2 separate regions of the Homo sapiens genome follow, and region 2 is linked to region 1. Evidence: promoter capture Hi-C in 16 types of primary human blood cells and fetal thymus (Javierre and others, 2016). All regions are on one chromosome and are shown on one strand. Each heading gives the region's core, a stretch centred on a gene start or on the middle of the fragment in contact. The rest is flanking DNA. Distances are from core to core; before and after follow the strand shown.

Region 1 (6,918 bases), core at 1,945-4,444:
CCAGCCTGGCCAACATGGTGAAACCCCATCTCTACTAAAATTATGTGAATTATCCACGTGTAGTGGTGGGCGTCTGTAGTCCCAGCTAGGTGGGAGGCTGAGGCACAATCCCTTGAACCTGGGAAGTGGAGGTTGCAGTGAGCTAAGATCACACCACCGCACTGTAGCCTGGGTGACAGACTCCTGTCTCAAAAAGATGCTAAAGGGAATTCTTTAAATTGAAAGGTAATAACAACATGAAACTATGAAAATATAAAGACTCTGGTAAAAAATACATAGATACAGAATCCCTTAGTATTGTAATGTTTGAACATAAACCATTTTTAAGCCTGCTGTAGAATTTGAAAGAAAAAAACAAAGCTAGGCCGGGCGCAGTGGCTCACGCCTGTAATCCCAACACTTTAGGAGGCTGAGGCAAGTGGATCACTTGAGGTCAGGAGTTCGAGACCAGCCTGACCAACATGGTGAAACCCTGTCTCTACTAAAAATACAAAAATTATCCGAGCACAGTGGCTAGTGCCTGTAATCCCAGCTACTCAGGTGAGGTAGAATCGCTTGAACTTGGGAGGCGGAGGTTGCAGTGAGCCGAGATTGCATCCAGCCTGGACAACAAAGCGACAGACTGTCTCAAAAAACAACAACAACAACAGCAACAAAGCTGGGCATGGTGGCATGTGCCTGTAATCTCAGCACTTTTGGAGGCTGAGGTGGGAGGATCACTTGAGGCCAGGAGTTCGATACCAGTCTGGGCAACATAGGTAGATCCTGTCTCTACGAAACATTTTAAAAAATTAAAAACTGACTGCTATAACTTTTTGGTAGATTAGCCCTTTTATCATTATGTAATTTTCCTGTCTCAATTTTCTTTGTCTACAAAGTCCACATTATCTGATATTAATACAGTAGACCACTTCAGTGCCTTTGACATTGAACTCATGGGTTCTGGGTGACCAGGGTCATTGTCCAATATCAAAAGAACATTCAAGGGCAGTCCCTTACTGGCAAGGTACTTCGTGATTTCACGGACAAAAGCATTAGTGGAACCAGTCCAGAAAAAGTTTCTCATTGTCCAGGCCTTTTGGTTGTGTGCCCAAGAACAGAAAGTTCATCCTTAACCTTTTCCCTCCAAGGCTTGGAGGTTAGCAGCATTGTACATAACAGCAGTTCTGATCATAAACCCGACTACATTTGCACAAAACAGTAGAGAGACTCCATTCCTTCCTACCTTTATTTTTTGTAAAGACAGCATCTCGCCATGTTGCCCAGGCTGTCCTGGAACTTGCGGTCTTGAGTGATCCCCTGACTTCGGCCTCCCAGGGTGCTGGGATTACAGGCATGAGCCACTGTACCCAGCCTGGCCTTTACCTTTCTTACAGCTCTCTGGGATTTGGCATTATTTCAGGTTTGCCAAGAAAATAACATCCGTTTCCAAGATTTAAAATGTTGCTGGTGTGTCCTTACTTGTTTTTCCTGACCTTGTGAATTAACAAGTTTTCAAACAATCTGTTACATTTGCTTTTAGTGGTACAGAGGAGGCAAAATACATTTTTCTTGCGCGTCCTATGTTGGTGGCTGAGACCCCTAAGACAAAAGACAAATTAACAAGAGCAAAACATACAAGTTTCTTTAATACAAGTTTTACATGACACAGCAGCCTACATAAGGAAATGAAGTCCCAAAGAAACAGTTAAAGTTGTGTATTTTTATGCTAAATTTGATGAAGTCACAGAGAAATATAAATGGACAAAGAGGATATGATCTAATAGTAATACACTGGGGGCAACTTAGCAAGGCCTGTTTGTTCAAGAGTTTTCTCTGTGACTGTGTGTCTTCAGCAATAAAGATGTTACTTTCCTCCAGGTATAGGGAGTGCAAATCTCACATGAGAATCTTACGACCTGCTTCAGGGGACGTTAGGAAATTCTTCCTAGGTTTTACAACCTGCTTCGTGGGAGATGTGTGGAAAAGTCCTTCCTGTTTCTGCTGTTTTCTCAAATGATGAGGTGCCATATTTTGGCAGTGAGTGTGTGTGTCCTGAACTATATCAGTACGTGTTAGGAGGGAACAAAATTAGATGTGTTGTACCCAATCTGCCTTCTTTTCTTCTTTACTGTATGCTTTGAAGGCTGCAAAATTTCCTCTAAATATTCCCTTTACCTAAATCTTTTCTAAAAAGTTTCTAGTCTTTTAAAAAATGTTTAGCTTAATTACATTGTCAAAGAATATGGTCTTGTGTGATACCAATTGCTTGAAATGTGTTGAGGCTACTTTACAGACTAGTATGAGATCATTTCTTAAGTAAATATATGCTTTTCCATGTGTTTTCTTCAGTTTTGGGGTGGAGTAGTCTACATGTCTATTCATTAACATAAAACTAATTTTGCTTTTCAAATATTTCATATCTATAGTGACCTTTTTGTCAGCTTTTCTATTAGTTACTGAGAAGGTAGGTTAAAAACTCTGAGGCCAGGGTGGTGGCTGACGCCTATAATCCCAGCATTTTGGGAGGCCAAGGCAGGAGCGTTGCTTGAGCCCAGAAGTTTGAGACCAGCTTGGGCAACAGAGTAAGATCCCATCTGTACAAAAAAGAAAGAAAACAAAATTAAAAATGGGTTCTGCCCATGTTTGCTTTATGTATTTTGTATCTTATGTTATTAAATACATAAAAGTTTAAAATATTTTATTTGCTGGTAAATTAATGCCTTTTTTTTTTTTTTAAGACACTCTCTTGCTCTTGTCACCCAGGCTGGAGTGAGGTGGCGCAATATCGGCTCACTGCAACCTCTGCCTCTCAGGTTCAAGTGATTTTCTTGTCTCAGCCTCCCGAGTAGCTGGGACTACAGGTGCCCGCCACCACGCCTGGCTAATTTTTTTTGTATTTTTAGTAGAGACAGGGTTTCACCATGTTAGCCAGGCTGGTCTTGAATTCCTGACCTCAGGTGATTCACCCACCCGCCTCCCAAAGTGCTGAGATTGCAGGCCTGGCCAGAGAGACGACTTTAGCCGGGGTAAGGGGCCGCCTGGGAACCCCGCGTCCCGCCTGGACACACCGATGACCTGCAGAGGCCACACCGTGGGCCACCTCAGCTGGCCACTGGCACAGCCTTGCCCTCTGGGGCCCCGTTCTCGCACACGCCGACGGCCTGGCCGCACTGCAGCCCCGCAGCCTTGTGGGAAATGTAGTCTGGCGCTCCGGGCTGTAAGCGCCGGTCGCGGCTGTGTCGGTCGCCGCTGCTCCCGCTCCTGCTGGGAGAGGGTGAGTGCGGGGCCGGTGGCGGGGGCGCGCGCCATCCGTGAGTCTTGTAGGCCCCCGCAGGAGGAGCTCCGGATTGCGGGGCGAGGCCCCAGCTTCCTGAGGGTTGAGGGGCGGGCCCGCAGCAGATGGGCCGGGGGTGCGGCCTCACTGCGCCTGTGGAGCGCCGGGCCTCCGGCTCCAGGTGCGCTCCCTCTTCCCCAGGAGCTGGCGGCGGGAGCACGCTGGCAGCTGAGTGTCCTTCGGCGCTGTCCTGGGCAGGCGCCGAGGTGGAATCACAGCCCCGGAGCAGCGGGGATGGGGGCTCGAACAAGGGCCACGCCGGCCACCACGGGTCAGGGAGGGGCCCAAGGTTCCAAGAGTCGCTCGGACCCGGGTTCCTCCCTGGCTTTCCCCAGCCGCGCGCAGCTTTGTCCCGGGACACGCTGCGACCGTGGAGCGAACCTAACCCGCGGACATCCCGGGGATTCTGGGCCAGAGGCTGGGTCTCCCTGTGCAGCATCTGCCCTTTGTGTAAACCGGGTCTCCGGACCCGCCCTCTGGATCTCATTCCGAGAGCGCTGGCGTGGGCTCCCCTCCCATCTCACAATAAGAATGGGGAGGCCAACCTGGTGCAGGTTTCGACCTCGGGGAATCTTTTCTTTTTTTCCTTAAGCGATTTCACTGTAGCACAACTGGAAAATTGAGATTAAAACAATCATTCAAAATCTATCTCCATCTGCATGGCAGCGTGGATATGTGTATAAGCATAGAAACACTTTGTACTTTGTTTTTAAACAGAAATATGAATATTAGCAGCTTTTTCTCCATCTATCTTTTAAAACTGAGTCATGAGATGCATTTGGTAAGGGGTTTGAAGTGCACAAATCTTAAGCCTTGTAATTTTTTACTGGCCTAAACACCCAATGAAGATAGAGAATACATCTGAAAAAAACATTGGAATATGTTGACACCATCTACTTATACCAGATTTTAAATAGAGCTACGTCATTTTAATGAGTGTGAGGGAAAGTATGGATGTGTCGTATTGAATCCTCTCCTTAGGTTTTTGTGTTAGGGTTTTCTTTTTTCTTTTTTTTTTTCAGTATTATAAACAGTATAGGCCATCTGGCTACATACATCTTTGCATTTTGTCTTATTCTATAAATCTCTTAAAGTGAAATTTCTAGGTCCAGGGTACAGTAAGGATTTTGATACCTCCTGTCTTATTCCCTCCAGAAAAGTTGCAGTTTATATAAACACTTGCAGTGTAAGAGTGCCAGATTTACCCACACCAACTGTGAATGTTAGTATTCTCTTGAACTTCTGAGAGGTGCAAAAGATAGGATTGTTTACATTTGCATTTTGAACACTAATGAATATTTTCACGCAGTTTGCATTTTGTATTTTAATTTTGTATCTGATACATAAGCATGTTTCCTGACTGTGCAGAAACGTCACAGGTTCTTATGGTCACACATGAAAACCTTTTCTTCACGTTTGGGTGTTTGACATCACTGGCAGAGAAGCTGTCTGTCCCACGAGATTACAAAAATGTTTGTAGTTTCTCTTAGTACTTTCATTTTTTGTGTACATTTTTATTTTTTTCCAAATGGTAAGCCTTTGTTACAAGTTACTTAGTAATTTTTTCTTCGTTGATATGAAATGTCACTTATTTCATATCTTGAATGAAATATATATATACACACACATACATAAATACATGTGTATTTGAACCATTTAGGTTGGTAGAATTTTAATTTGTTCCATTGATGCTTTTCCCTGTTCGGCTATAACATCCATGATTGCGGAGAGTTTATCTGTTTTATTTACAGCTGTATCCACCCCTACCCCATGCAATGGTGCCTAGTATACAGTAGGTGGTCAACAATGTATCTGGTAAATAAGTCAGTAATATTGTGTTCCAATTCTTGTAGCTTTATGAATACTGGTGGGCAAGTTGTCTCTCATCAGTATTCTTTTTTAAAAAAGTCTTAGTTGTTGTAACACACAACTTAAATATTTTTTCCATAATTAGTGAACTTCTTTTTTTTTATTGAGACGGAGTCTTGCTCTGTCACCGAGGCTAGAGTGCAGTGGTGTGATCTCGACACTGCAACCTCTACCTCCCCGGTTCAAGTGATTCTCCTGCCTCAGACTCCTGAGTGGCTGGGATTACAGGCGCCCACCACCACTCTCTAATTTTTGTATTTTTGGTAGAGACAGGATTTTGCCATTTTGGCCAGGCTGGTCTCGAACTCCTGGCCTCAAGTGGTCCACCCACCTTGGCCTCCCAAAGTGCTGGGATTACAGGCGTGAGCCACCGCGCATGGCCCATATTAACTGTAAAATATTGTTACTTAGGCATAACTTGGCTGGGAATGTGTTAAGTTTATGAATTAAAGAAATGACATCCTGGTATATTGAGACATATTGTGCAAGAATATGTCATGTCTCTCTGTCTTTCGTCTTTGTATAGCTAAATAGGCATAATGAAGTGAACTTAATACATGAAAATCATTTTCTTTATGTAGCTACTATCCAGGTCTTATTTAGTTTATTTATAGGTATTTTCATTGTTGCTGTTGCAGGAGTCTTGTTTCTCATGGCTTCTTTCCCTTCCCTCAGCTCTGCCTCCTTTGGCTTCTGTCCCTCCCCAAGGAAGAACCCCACAGGAAGGAAGGAGAAGGCAATGGCTGCTTGGCCTCTGCCATTGGGAGCTCGGGTGAGCTCATTTTTCCCTCTCAAACCTCCCCCTTCCTCCTGTACTGCATGTGGGCCTCACTGCTCAGGACAGGGTTATTGAAATAGCAGAATGCTGGATATTTTTCACAAAGCCCCCTCTGTGTTCCTGACCTCTGTTCCTAGCTGCCACTTACTCAGCTGGATACCCTGGCCTGCTGTGTTCTTGGTGCTGTTCAAGGGTCAGAAAGGGAAAAAAGTTATATGCAAGCTGGTGCTGGTGCTTATAGGGCTTATGGGCTCTCAGGGATCATAAAAGAGGGCACATCTGCATGGTATACAGTCATAATTGCACCTGAATATGGTAATAAGAACAAGTGTGGTTAGGGACCCAGTTTATCCGTATTCCAAGCTGGAGTGAAGGGGAGGATCAGGGTGGTGGCCAGGAGAAGTAGGTAGTGTTTGCCCATCTCAGGGGTTGGGAAGGGATAACTGGAGAGGATTTGTTATAAGGGAGTCAGTGTGTCCAGAGTTTAAATCCCAGCTCTACCATTTAATAGCTACATTGTCTTGGCAAGAGGCTTGGCTTTCCTGAAACATTATTTTCTCATGGTCATAATAGGAATTACAGCATTACCTGTCTGCCATATAGGTGACATGAAGAACGTCACCTGGCTGATTTCATTTAATAGTAATAGCTACTTCATAGGTCTGTTGAAAGTTCAAATAAAATAATAAAAGTAAAAAATGCCTGGCATGGCTCCTGGAATGTTGAAGTTATTCAGTAAGTTGTAGGCATTCTTAGTATCATCCCAGCCAAGAGCCTGTGTATAGACTTTTAGAGGTGGACTGAAGGGGGCAGTGACTGATAGTGAGAAATGCTCTGCTGGAGTAGAAGAAATCGGATAAAAATTTTAGGACCAAGTGTCGGGAAGGAGGAGTTTGTGTGTTTGGCAGGGTGGTGGCCATGGGGGTGGAGGTCAGTCTGAGGAATTTTGATAAGG
Region 2 (6,918 bases), core at 2,092-4,591, 600 kb after region 1:
TCAGGAGGCTGAGGCAGAAGAATTGCTTAAACCGGGAGGCAGAGGTTGCAGTGAGCCAAGATCACACCATTGCACTTCAGCCTGGGTGACAGAGCGACACTCCATATATATATATATATGGCCAGGTGTGGTGGCTCACGCCTGTAATCCCAGCACTTTGGGAGGCCGAGATGAGCGGATCACAAGGTCAGGAGATTGAGACCATCTTGGCTAACATGGTGAAACCCCGTCTCTACTAAAAATACAAAAAATTAGCTGGGCGTGGTGGGGGGTGCCTGTAGTCCCAGCTACTCGGGAGGCTGAGGCAGGAGAATGGCGTGAACCCGGGAGGCGGAGCTTGCAGTGAGCCAAGATCGCTCCACTGCACTCCAACCTGGGCAACAGAGCAAGACTGTCTCAAAGAAAAAGGTTGCCTAGAGGGGGAGGTGGGGGAAGGAGAATGAGCAGGTGGGGATATCTTTTCATATCATTTTGATGGTTTGAACTATGTCATGCATCTCCCATTTGAAAGTTAAACATATTTTTTGAAAAATTATACAAGCATAAGACATTGTTAAATTCAGTCACTTCACAAAAACATGTAAAGTTGGACTCCAAATGCCAGAGGATCCATGGAATCTAACTGTTCTGCCTCTTCTCCCCTACATGAAGCTTCCTCAAGGGCAAGCATCTTGTCCTATTCATCTTTGCGTCACTGGGCCCAAGCACATAGTAGATAATCAACAAATCTTTATTGAATAGATGGGTTGTGGAAACTGACAGCCACAGATTAAACGCAGAAGAAGGCACTAGTGCACATGATCGGGACTGCTCACTTTATTTAACAAGAATCACCATAGTGATGAGAGATGTGTGAGGGAAACGGCACTGCGGTTGCCAACAGCAGCAGGCTGGGGCCAACGGGCTCCCGGAGGCAAAGCCTGGACCATTTCTGAATGAGGGGCTCATCATCGCCTAGAACTTTATGCTTTGTGTGTGTGGGGGGGGGTTCTTTTTGTAAAATTGTATTCATTTTAACAGCAAATGTTGAAAATGTTTCAATATGCATTCTCCCCTAAAATGTGTAGTTATAAGATAAGAGACTTGGTTTTCTTGCCATTTTTCCTTTGCTGATTAAAAAGAAGAAAAAATAAAAAAAAAAACAGGAAATGAAATCTGGTTTATATATAATTTGTCACACATGTAAGATATCCAACTTTGTAAGCACTCCAAGTTTTCATTAACTCTGCTAAAATATATTTACATTAAGAAATTTCCCAGCCCTAATGTCATTAGTTTCAAACTTCCAAACTCAGTTGTTTTGCTAAAAACGCAGATCAGGGCCAGATGGAGGAACAAGCACCCCTGATTGACCTCCCTCCGAACCAAAATCCCATAAATGACAGAAATATCTTCCTTAATTAGAAGTAGCACAAAAGGGAAAGAAAGGGGAAGGAAATGCATCATGTTCTGGGAATAAATCAGCAAGGTCACCAGCATCGCACAGCATTTGCCCCCAGTTGATATAGAAAGTGCGAATACTTGGTCCAGAGAAGAAAGACAGTCTCCCCAGGAATCACTGACTCCCTGTCCCTGAGAAGGACAGGGAACTCATGGCCAGGTGTGGTGGCTCACGCCTGTAATCCCAGCACTTTGGGAGGCCGAGGTGGGTGGATCATGAGGTCAGGAGATCAAGATCATCCTGGCTAACACAGTGAAACCCTGTGTTTACTAAAACAATACAAAAAAAATTAGCCGGGCATGGTGGCGGGTGCCTGTAGCCCCAGCTACTCGGGAGGCTGAGGCAAGAGAATGGCGTGAACCCAGGAGGCAGAGCTTGCAGTGAGCCGAGATTGCACCACTGCACTCCAGCCTGGGCAACAGAGAGAGACTCCGTCTCAAAATAAATTAATTAAATAAAGCGGGAGGCTGAGACAGTCACTTGAGGCTAGGAGTTCAAGACCAGCCTGGCCAACATGGCAAAACCCCTTATCTACTAAAAATACAAGAATTAGCCTGGCATGGTGGCGCACCTGTAATCCCAGCTACTTGGGAGGCTGAGGCAGGAGAATCACTTGAAGCCAGGAGGCGGAGGTTGCAGTGATCTGAGATCACCCCACTGCACTCTAGCTTGGATGACAAAGCAAGACTCCATCTCAAAAAAAAAAAAAAAGTAAAGTGGAATTTTAGAAATCTAGGCACATTGCAGCAAAATTTTGGAATACCAAGGAAAAAAGGAAAATCCTCATAGTTTTCTGACCGAGAGAATAGGTTGTCACAATAGAATGAAAGTCAGCTTGACATCAAGACTTATCATCAATCCCGAATCCTAAAAGATAGTAGAGCAATTTCTCTAACATTCCAAAGAAAAAACTATTCGTAATCTAGGATCCAAGACCCAGCCAATCTAGCCTTAAATTGGGGGTGCAAAATAAAGACATTTTCATGCATATATGGGTTCATCCCACCTATAAACTCCCCCCAAAGAATCTAAGAAAATAAAAGAGATCAACTACAGTAAGTGCTGGAGGGAGAAATAAAGACAGAGATGATGCACTAAACTGGTCTTAAAAATATGAAACTAAAGTCTCCAATGAGCTCAGTGTGGTAGGGAATTGGTCCCAGGCGGGCAGGAGCAGCGGCGAGAGAACGGCGATTAAATTCACATTCCCAGTGCGGGCAGGACTGTCCCAAAGCAAGAACAGAGCTTTCTGCAAATGATCCGGTCAGACCTGTCTCACTTCTGAAAACAACCTCATTGGGATTTCTAATAAACTGGACTGATTCACTAAATAATTGGACTAGCAAACCAAACCAGTTTTACCTTTTTTTTTTTTTTTTGAGACAGAATCTCGCTCTGTCGCCCAGGCTGGAGTGTAGTGGCATGATCTCAGCTCACTGCAAGCTCCGCCTCCCGGGTTCACGCCATTCTCCTGCCTCAGCCTCCCGAGTAGCTGGGTCTACAGGTGCCCGCCACCACGCCTGGCTAATTTTTTGTATTTTTAGTAGAGACAGGGCTTCACCGTGTTAGCCAGGATGGTCTCCATCTCCTGACCTTGTGATCTGCCCACCTCGGCCTCCCAAAGTGCTGGAATTACAGGCGTCAGCCACAAAGCTCTTTCTCTTAACTTACATTGTCAGGAAACTGGTAACATAGATTGAATGACCCGCCCCAGTTTTTCACCCACACTCACACCCTCGCCATAGCCTCCCTTTCCCACCCCTTGACTTTGGGCTTGGCCAAAGGGATGCCAGCAGGCATGACACAGCAAAACTGGAAATGTGTTTGTGGGGTTAGATGTGCCGTCTCTCAGGGCCCTGCCATCAGCCAGAGACGAAACTGCCCCTGCTGGTCCCAGGAAGAGGATGAGAGGCATGTGGAGCAGAGCTGCCCAGCCAACCCACAAACTCATGAGTAAGAAATAAATGATTATTACTGTTTGCCACTGAGATGTGGGGATGGTTTGTTACACAGCATAAGTGTGACAATAGCTAACTGATACTCAGAGGGCAAGTGCCACTGCAGCAAACATGAGGAGGAATTCCTGAGCCTTTATATTAAAGTGGCTGCTCTCACTAGAGACACGATTGGACTCTGGCTGGTGCGATGACTCACACCTGCAGTCCCAACACTTGGGAGGCCAAGAGCAGAGGATTGCTTGAGCCCAGGAGTTTGAAAGCAGGCTGGGCAATGGATCAAGACTCCATCTCTACAACAACAACAACAAAAACACAGTGTTTTGAACTGAAGGAGCCATACAAAGGATGTCATACAGATTTATTAAATTCAAAACCAGGCTGGGCACGGTGGCTCACACCTGTAATCCCAGCACTTTGGGAGGCAGAGGTGGGCGGATTACCCGAGGTCAGAAGTTCAAGACCAGCCTGGTCAACATGGTGAAACCCCGTCTCTACTAAAAATACAAAAATTAGTCAGGCGTGGTGGTGCACGCCTCTAATCCCAGCTACTTGGGAGGCTGAGGCAGGAGAATTGATTGAACCTAGGAGGTGGAAGTTGCAGTGAGTCAGGATTGCGCCACTGCACTCGAGCCTGGGCGACAAGAGCGAAAGTCAGTTAAAAAAAAATCCAGAAAAACTACTTTTCTGGAATGCAAATCAGAATAGTGGCTGCTTGGGGATTAGGGGACAAGGGAAGTTGAGTAGACTGTAAAGGGATTGGGGGGAATTTTCTACAATGGTGGCAATGTTTTCTGCCTTGATTGGGGTGTTGGCTACAGATAGATATTTGTAAAAAGCCATTGAATTATATATTTAAGATCTGTGTGTTTTACTAAACTATTCCTCAATTTTTCAATTAGCAATAATCACGCCTCGGATAAACCTCATTGGCTATGATACTGCCACTGCACAAAGCTATTCCTCAATTTTTAAAAACATGTCTGTATGGAGTGGATACCCAGACCAGGGTGAGGCTGAGGTGCAAACAGGCCTACCTGAGGTGCCGGGCAGCCTTCCAAGACTCCAAGACTAGGTGGGCTCTGGGCAGACAAAGCCTCCCTCTCACAAAAGGTCTGGGAACCCTTTTCAGGGGGCTCAGAGTCCGGCCACATCTCTAGGTTTTCTGACGTCCTAGACACACCATGAGAAAGAACTTTGACTGGGCTCTCAATCTGGTTGGTGACCTAGGATATGGGGCTCATACCCAGGACCAAGAACCCAGGGCTTCTATCCAGAGCCTAGGACTTGGGGCTTATACCCACGGCCTAAAACCTGGGGCATATACCCAGGGCCTAGGACACAGGTTTATGCCCAGGGCCTAGGACACAAGGCTAATACCTAGAAAGAACACAGAACTTACACCCAGGGCCTGGAACTCGGGGCTTATAACCAGGGCCTAGGACATGGGGCTTATACCCAGAGACTAGGACACAAGGCTTATAACCAGAAAGGACACAGAACTTATATTCAGGGCCTAGAACCCGGGGCTTATACCCAGGGATTAGGACATGGGGCTTATACCCAGAGCCTAGGACACAAGGCTTATACCCAGAAAGGACGTGGGGCTTATACTCAGAGCCTAGGACACAAGGTTTATACCCAGAGCCTAGGACATGGGGCTTATACTCAAAGCCTAGGACATGGGGCTTATACCCAGAGCCTAGGAAACACAAGGCTTATATGCAGAAAGGACACAGGGCTTATACCCGGAGCCTAGGACATGGGGTTTAACCCAAGGTCTAGGACACAAGATTTATACCCAGAGCCTAGGACAAGGGGCTGAGAACCAGAGAATAGGACACAAGGCTTATACCCAGAACCTAGGACAGAAGGTTTATACCCAGAGCCTAGGACACAAGGCTTGTATCCAGAGCCTAGGACCCGGGGCTTCTACCCAGAGCCTAGGACCCAGGCCTTACACCTAGAGCCTAGGAGGCGGGGCTTACACCCAGAGCCTAGAACCCGGGGCTTATACCCAGAGTCTAGGACCCTAGGCTTATACCCAGGGCCTAGGAAGCAAGGCTTATACCCAGAGCCTAGGACACAAGGTTTATATGCAGAACCTAGGACCCGGGGCTTATACCCAGAACCTAGGACACAAGGCTTATACCCAGAGGCTAGGACGCGGGGCTCATATTCAGAGCGTAGGACACAGAGCCTGTATTCAGAACACACTAACCTGGAAACAGATGCTCTGAAACACAACTAGGAGAAAACCTGGCAAATGTCAGTCGTGATTGTCTCTTGTCCCCATGCAATAGGATTACAAGTGTTTTCCTTTTCTTTGTTCTTGTTGGTTCCTTATAAATTTAAAATAAATGATTAACCTCAAAAGTATTTGTGGACATGTGATTACATATAGAAGAGTGATTGTTAAATATTCTTTCTCAGGATAGCTTTATACTCTGAAAATCTCCTGTGGACCCTAAGGAACTTTACGTGAATTGCATCTATCAATTTTACTGTAATACAGATTAAATTTGAGGAGGTTTTGAAATATTTACTTATTTTAAAATAGTAATGATTCCACAGTGTCTACATATTTCAAAACATCATGTTGTACACGTTAAATAATTTCATTTTCAATTAAAAATAAGCTTTAAAAAGAATTCAAATTGCTCAATTTTTTAAATTAAAAACAACAAACCCATTGTTGTATGTTAACAATAAATAATTTTGTATGGAAAGCAACAATATCTTCTGCAAAATTAGTGAGTTGCATTGCCGCTGGCAAATCTCTAGGTAGATGTCTGAGCTGATTCTCAGATCTGCTTTTGCCTTCAATCTGTTACAATGTCACACATCACAGCATCTCTGGAAAATTCCACTGTATACTCATGGGAGAATAAGAATGAAAAAAGGCAAATCACATCTTACCATTATTATGAAAATAGTTTTGGCTACACTTTGAGAACTACTAATATAGAGTATAATCACAACTGTATAAAAATAGGCAAATAAAATTTCTGAGTAAAAGTGTCATGGTGCCACCTCGTGTCATCTTTAATTATTGCAATGCCTGCTTACCGAACTTGTCTGTGCACACGTATCAGGTTGGTGCAAAAGTAATCACGGTTTTTGTCTGGGCATGGTGGCTCACGCCTGTAATCCCAGCACTTTGGGAAGCCGAGGTGTGCAGATCACCTGAGGTCAGGAGTTCAAGACCAGCCTGGCCAACATGGTGAAACCCCGTCTCTACTAAAAATACAAAAATTAGCCAGGAGTGGTGGCGCACACCTGTAATCCCAGCTACTGGGGAGGCTGAGGCAGGAGAATCACTTGAACCCCAGAGGCAGAGGCTGCGGTGAGCTGAGATCACCCCATTGCACTCCAGCCTGGGCGACAGAGTAAGACTGTGTCTCAAAAAAAAAAAGTAATCGCAGTTTTTGCTATTGAAAGTAATGGCAAAAGCTGCGATTACTTTTGCACCAACCTAATAGTATATGGGGTGTGTGTGCATAATATGGTTTGTGCATGCAG

The links. Contacts are between HindIII fragments. The CHiCAGO score rates a contact against its expected background, and 5 or more counts as called.
Region 2: a fragment that was not itself captured here is called in contact with the fragment with the promoter of ZFP2 in region 1 in 2 of 17 cell types (endothelial precursors and M2 macrophages); the score reaches 8.1 in endothelial precursors.

Annotation. Positions count from the first base shown.
Region 1 is chr5:178,892,719-178,899,636 of GRCh38, forward strand. It overlaps ZFP2 (ZFP2 zinc finger protein), which reads left to right and starts at 3,195. Exons shown (of 5, transcript NM_030613.4): 1 at 3,195-3,256. RefSeq lists an enhancer at 2,908-3,097 and silencers at 3,208-3,317, 3,388-3,437. The HindIII fragment of the contact is 12,652 bases long and covers 1-6,918 here.
Region 2 is chr5:179,487,803-179,494,720 of GRCh38, forward strand. LOC124901224 (U4 spliceosomal RNA) reads right to left here and starts at 4,355; the gene lies at 4,213-4,355. The HindIII fragment of the contact is 5,384 bases long and covers 650-6,033 here.